Linked DNA regions of Homo sapiens: region 1 is linked to region 2. Evidence: promoter capture Hi-C in 16 types of primary human blood cells and fetal thymus (Javierre and others, 2016). All regions are on one chromosome and are shown on one strand. The core of a region is centred on a gene start or on the middle of the fragment in contact, and the rest is flanking DNA. Distances in the headings are between cores, read along the strand shown.

What was found. Contacts are between HindIII fragments. The CHiCAGO score rates a contact against its expected background, and 5 or more counts as called.
Region 1: a fragment that was not itself captured here is called in contact with the fragment with the promoter of SCG5 in region 2 in 3 of 17 cell types (M0 macrophages, monocytes and fetal thymus); the score reaches 5.6 in M0 macrophages.

Annotation. Positions count from the first base shown.
Region 1 is chr15:33,225,055-33,228,495 of GRCh38, reverse strand. No RefSeq gene overlaps it. Among named protein-coding and RNA genes, the nearest start is that of FMN1, 32 kb to the right of the region's middle. RefSeq lists an enhancer at 1,719-1,768. The HindIII fragment of the contact is 7,416 bases long and covers 1-3,441 here.
Region 2 is chr15:32,640,224-32,643,414 of GRCh38, reverse strand. SCG5 (secretogranin V) reads right to left here and starts at 1,705. Exons shown (of 6, transcript NM_001144757.3): 1 at 1,637-1,705. The region is part of intron 9 of ARHGAP11A-SCG5 (ARHGAP11A-SCG5 readthrough); the gene reads right to left. RefSeq lists enhancers at 933-1,571, 1,572-2,212. The HindIII fragment of the contact is 7,166 bases long and covers 1-3,191 here.

The DNA of each region.
Region 1 (3,441 bases), core at 942-3,441, 580 kb before region 2:
CCACTGAGCAGACACAGAAGAGTGGAGAGAGCTATAGCAGTGTCTTTCAGCAGTTCTTAGGAGTTCAGGGGTGGAAAGATGGGGCGAGGGCGAGGGCTAGGGCCGTGTGGTGGATGGGGAAAGTCTAAGAGAGTCTGATGGGCAAGGAAATAGATTTCCTGGATATGAATCCTTGCCTTTGCTAGAATTTCTCTGCTGAAAATGTAGGTGGTTAGGAGATTTCCTACCTTCCAGGTCAGCTAAACCTGGAACTACATTTACAGTCAACTTTAAACAAAACCCCCTGACAGTTTACACCCTACACAGTCCACAGTCAGTACTGTAGTCTGGAAATAAGAGATGAATCTAAGGTTTGGATGCTGAAAGATTCACCTGTCTCTCCAGGCATGGTCTGAGTATTTCTAATCTAGAGAATTTATAAGTCAACAATGGGCCTGAAATATAGTCTTCCAGTGACTTCTCATGTAATGGAAAACTCATCTTCTCCCCAAGGTTTTATCCTACTGGGAAGATCACCAGTGATCAATCTTAAAAGAGAAAATGTCCATTAGGAATTTTTATGTCCCTTCACCTGCATTACTTTGCTAGGAAAAATAGGCATGAGAGGATTGTATATTTTATTATATAATCCTACTTCAAAAGAGTTTATATTCTATTCACAAGGAAAAAGGAAAGTACTAACAAATGCAAAGAAGCATGAGGGAAGTGTCATCAAGATAATACAAAAAGGCTCAAAGGAAAAAGATGAACAAAAAGGAGCTAATGGGAGAGGTGTCATTTGATACAGGAATTGACCAAGAGATATGATTTCAACTCATGGAGATGGAGGAGGAAGGGCCTTCTAACTGAGGAAAGGTAAAAGACGGAAATTAAAATGTGCCCTCAGGCTTTAAATATCTTAATTGCCTGGGGGAGAGGCTAGAGGTAAATTGATCCTTCGATTATTTGGAGTTCATTATCCCAGCAGAGAAAGTCTTACAGCAGCTTACTTGATTACTAGTTGTTCAAGAAACTTTATTTATTATCCACTTATATCTGGTATGCAAGAAAGAGTTTAAAAGAATCAATAAACTTTGGTCTCCAGTGGATTAGGTATTGACACGACTGCGGAAGAAGAGAAAGTACAAGATAGTCCTGAGGGCTCCCCAAGGGTAAACCTTCTAAATGTTTAAACCTTCAAAACCATTGATTCCCAGAAATACTCAGAACAAAGTGAAGTATTTGCAAGAGAGAGAGAGAGAAAATTTTGTGGGCCTCCGGAAGAGGAATCCTGTTACTTCCTTTATAGCTGATTCTCAACCCTAGTAACACATCAGAATCACCCAGGGACAGTTTAAAATATTCATGCCTGGGCCCCAACTCCAGATATCTTGATTTTATTTAGGGGTATTGGTATCTTTGAAAAGCTCCTCCAGGTGATTCCATCACTAGATAGAACGTCTTGACTGTGAGTTTTCCAGGTTCTTGGCGTATTGAACAAAGAATTGAACAAAATGCACAAACAAAGCAACAAAAGAAGCAACAAAAGACAAAATAAAAGAGTAGAGTAATAAAGGCATAAATTTATTGAAGATGCAAAAGTACGATTAACAGAGTGGGAGCAGACTTGAGCAAGTGGCTCAAGAGCCTCCCTATTGCAATGCTCCCCAGGGTATTTATAAAGCCAAAAGAACTTGGCAATACCCCTAGGTGCCCTCTAGAGGCCTCCAACTGGTGGCAGTCTATGAAAAATTGACCTGAGGCCAATCAGAGTCTGAAGTGGAAACTTCTGTCTTGTTATCACAGGAAGGAGGATGTGGCTTGTATGCTGCCCAATCTTGGCTAGAACTGCCTGCACCTGCTGTTCTTTTGCTTATGCCTTAATCTTTGGTTACCCTAATTCCCTTTTCTCCTGCCTTAATTCCAATGTACAGCCAAGGCTGCAAACCACTGCTCTGAAAGCACTTTTGGTAACCTCCAGACTCCTTATATAAAGACAAGAGAGAACTGGGGAGAGTTATTTCCAAATTGGGAAAATTCCTTCTATGTAGGAAGAAAAAGTGGACCTTAATATGAAGCCACCCTTCCTGATTATTTTTTCATATTTGTAGCTGCTTTGGCATCTTCAGCCTTGAATTCCAACTGGGTCTGTATTTGCTCCTACCTACCTTACATTGATTATAACAGTCTCTTTAATATATTGGGTTCTTCCCACTACGTGGAGAGAATATAGAAATCAGGGTAAAGCTACAAATTGCCCCTTTCCCGACATGGTAGGCTGAATAACAGCCCCCCCAAAGATGTTGTCAGCCCAGGCAGCCATAATAAAATACCATAAACTATCAAATATTTATTTTTCACGGTTCTGGAGATTGGAAATACAAGATCAGGGTGCCAGCAGGGTTGAGTTAAGGTGAGAGCCCTCTTCTGGGTTGCAGGCTGCTAACTTGTATCCTCACACAGAGGAAAGAGCTGGCTGGCTCTCTGGCCTGTTCTTATAAGGGCACTAATCCTCAAGGGCTCTGCCTTCATGAACTAATTACCTCCCCAAAGCCCCACACACAAATACCATCACAGTGAGATTAGAGTCTTAACATAGGAATTTTAGAGGGAACACATTCAGTCCATTGCAAATGTGACAACATAGAATCCAGAACATGTGAATATGTTCCCTCCTGTGGGCCTCTGCAGAGGTGATTAATGATTTTAAGATGGTGAGAGTCCCTTGAATTTTCCAGGTGAGCCCAGTGTGATCACAAAGGGGAAAGGAGAATCGGAGTTTAAGAAGGTATGACAACAGAAGCAGAGATTTGAGTGATACAAGTGCTGGCTTTGAAGAAAGAAGCCAGCCTCTTGGCCATGGACCAAGAAAGGCAGACAGCCTTGAGAAGCTGCTAAATATCTTACACACATTATCTTACTTAATCTTTGCAATGACCCTATTCCCCAGGTCCCTTCATTACCCTCATTTCATGGAGGAAGAGCCAGAGACTCAGAGTTAAGAATTGTTTTCCTGGCCAGGTGCAGTGGCTCACACCTGTAATCCCAGCACTTTGGGAGGCTGAGGTGGGTAGATCACTTGAGGTCAGGAGTTCGAGACAAGCCTGGCCAATATGGTGAAACCCCGTCTCTACCAAAAAATACAAAAATTAGCCAGGCGTGGTGGCGTGTGCCTGTAGTCCCAGCTACTCAGGAGACTGAGGCAGGAGAATCACTTGAACCTGGGAGTTGGAGGTTACAGTGAGCTGAGATCATACCACTGCATTCCAGCCTGGGCAACAAAGTGAGACTCCGTCTCAAAAAAAAAAAAAAAAAAAGTGTGTTTCTAGAAGCTAAAATGCCACTAAGTATAAAATGCAACATTATATGTGCCACTAAGAAAAATGACTGCTAATTAAACTATGATATGTCATCAACAAACATAACACATGCCATTTCTCATTTAAAAACTATAAAATAAAT
Region 2 (3,191 bases), core at 456-2,955:
CATCATTGCAGAAAGGTATTAAACAAAACAGTTGCAGGTATCCAATTCCCTCTGTTTGCATTCTTGAGAAAGCTAGGCTGGAATGGCGGTTCTCACTCATAATTTTTATCCTCCTTGTAGCTCCCTGAAAGTTCTGCATTACTCCTAACTTCATCACTCTCTCCCTCTCTTACTAAAACAAATAAACCAAACTTGCTTACATTTTGAGAAAGAGATAGTGGCATCTTGGGTTTTCCCAGTCTCTGGGAATAAAAGTCTAACAGGAGGGAGTCAGGAAGACACAAATCAAGAAGCTCAGGAAGGTTGGGAGTGGTGGCAGGGAAACATTTCAGTTTAGCAAACATCCAATACGTTTGCGATCCTGAAAGGAAGGAAAATGTTCCTTAGATCCAGCCCTGCAATCTGCTGGGGTAGTTTGAGGTTTGTTTGCTCAGCCACATGCTGAGTGATCGTAGGCAAGTCCCTCAGTTTCCTCCTCTGCAAAACGGAGATAATTAAAGCATTTACCTTTTAGGGTTGTTGTGAGGGTGTGTGCAAATACATGTTAAGAGTGTTTAGGACAATGCCAGGCACAGAATGAGCCCCTATATTGCTATTATTATGTTGCTAACATTGCCTTAACAGTTCTGGAGGTTAGAATATGGGGAGGCAGTGGTGGTGAGAGGGAGTTAACTAGCCTGGGGGTGGGAGGGTCAACCTGTCCAAAATGTTGGTTTCTATGGGTATGTCTGCAAAACAAGTGAACATTATCCTTGCAGCTTACCCCACAGCTGCTTAACGTGTTTGGATGCATGCTTCAGGCAGCGGCCTTGCAAACCCTTTTTTTTTTTTTTTTTTTTTTTTTTTGAGACGGAGTTTCACTCTTGTTGCCCAGGCTGGAGTGCAGTGGCGCCATCTCGACTCACTGCAACCTCCACCTCCCAGGTTCAAGTGATTCTCCTGCCTCAGCCTCCCGAGTAGCTGGAATTACAGGCGCCCACAACCAAACCCGGCTAATTTTTGTATTTTTAATAGAGGCAGGGTTTCACCATATTGGTCAGGCTGGTCTCGAACTCCTGACCTCAGGTGATCCACCCCCTCCCCTCAGCCTCCCAAAGCGCTAGGATTACAGGCGTGAGCCACCAGGACCGGCGCAAACCCTCCTTCTAATCATTCTTCTACTGAGGATGGGGGATGGAGAGGTGGGAGGAGGCAAAATCGTGCATTTCCTTTACTGAAACAAAAATTTTTATACCCTCCAATTTCTTTTTCTGCAAAGAAAAGGCCTTTTCTAGCCACTAGATATAAAACCTTGCTCTCCAAAGAGCTGAGAGTAGCTGTTTAACAGCAAAATCTGCAATTCTGATGGAAAAGGCTGGAGGCAGACACGAGGCTCTCCATCTCCATCTTTCCCTTGTCCACTCTGAATGCAGGATGTCATCCCAGCAAACGCCGCTCTGATTTGATGAACTACACAATCTCCTCCCTCAGTACTCCCTTCCCCTTACTGATAGCCAAACATTCTAATCCCCTACGCATCCTTCGTCTGACCCCAGCCTCCACCTCAAGGATTTTAGCAGGACGCCCTCCCACAACTGGCAATACCAAATCTCGGGTTGGCGGCAGGCGGCCGAGCCGACATCAAAACTGTACTCACCGAGGGGCAGCCCGAGGAGCCTACTGCGGTATGGGCCTTGGTGGGGGTCAGGCCAGGAACGGGCGAACTGGAGAGCTAGTGCGTCACCCTCCTCCGCATCTTAGCTCCGCCCCGGCCCCTCCTCCAGCAGGTGGAAGCTGCCTCGCCAGGACTCCCCAGACTGCATCCCAGATAAGTGTGCCTCTCACCAGGAGCCGCACAGCTCTTCAACCCCCACATTCTGCATACAAACCTCTTGACTATGACATTTCCTAGAGACCCTCTTCAGCTCCATCGACCTCCATGTAAGTCATTCACCTCCTCAGTCTCAATTACAACGTGCCAGATCACCACTACAGCACACCTTTAATTTTGTCAACTTCTAGAATATGTTTTTTGTTTTTGTGTCTAAAGCCTTTCAGCTTCAAGAGGGAAGAGGCAATGAATGGTAGAGAGACAAAAGATGAAGTCCTAAGAACTTTTAATGGTGGCTATGATAAGGTATACCCTGCTCTGAGGGGCCTCTTACTAATCAGGAAAACTATGGGGATATTTAATACAAGAAGCCAGAAACTTCCATTAAAGTGATAAACTTGAAAATCTGTAGAAATATCAGCTCTGAGTGTTATTTCTAAACGTCCACACAAACCATCAAGTAAAATTCCACTTTGGCCTGAAGAGAAACCATACTCCCAGCATACTGTAGAAGTATGTCCAGGTAGTCCCAGATTCTTAAATAAGGGTTTATGGAGCACCTACTATGTGCAATCTTGAACACTGAAATTTGTTCAAATACTAAAATCAAAATGTAAAGCCATACAATAAATATGGCACTACAAATTTGATCAAGATGGAGGATGAGTAAAGAACCTGGGGGTCTCAAAACAAGTAACCTGATGAGGTTAGAATCCAGATCTATTTATCTTAGCTCTAGAGAGCAAATCCATTATCATCTACAGCAATTTTTATGCAATAAATAGAGGCTGGCAAAATTCATTTATGAGACACATGGCCTTTCATTTTGAAGCCAAGCCTCTTTCCCAGTACTTTTTCTTTCACGGATGCTCATCTGCTTCTTGCTTCTTGTTTCAATGCATGCTAAATCAACAGGACAAACACTATCCATTAAATGGCTCTAGGCTCACTGGCCATGCTGGAGTTAGTATTTATTATTGATGCACAGAGACTTTTTTCAATTCTGAGTTTTACTTTAGCTTTGTTCATTGTTATCTTCATTTTGTGGTTGAAAAAAATGAAGTCACTACAATTTACTGCTTTTGTGTTAAATTTAACTGAAATAGATCAAAATGCCTATGCTTCATTTGAAATTTGGTGTTTCAAAAATAAAACTTCATATATATTTAAGAGATCACAGAGGTTAGGTGCAGTGGCTCACGCCCATAATCCCAACACTTTGGGAGGCCAAGGTGGGAGGATCACAAGGTCAGGAGTTCGAGATCAGCCTGGCCAATATGGTGAAATCCCGTATCTACTAAAACTACAAAAATTAGCTGGGCGTGGTGGTGCATGCCTGTAGTCCCAACTACTTGGGAGGCTGAGGCAGAAGAATCGCTTG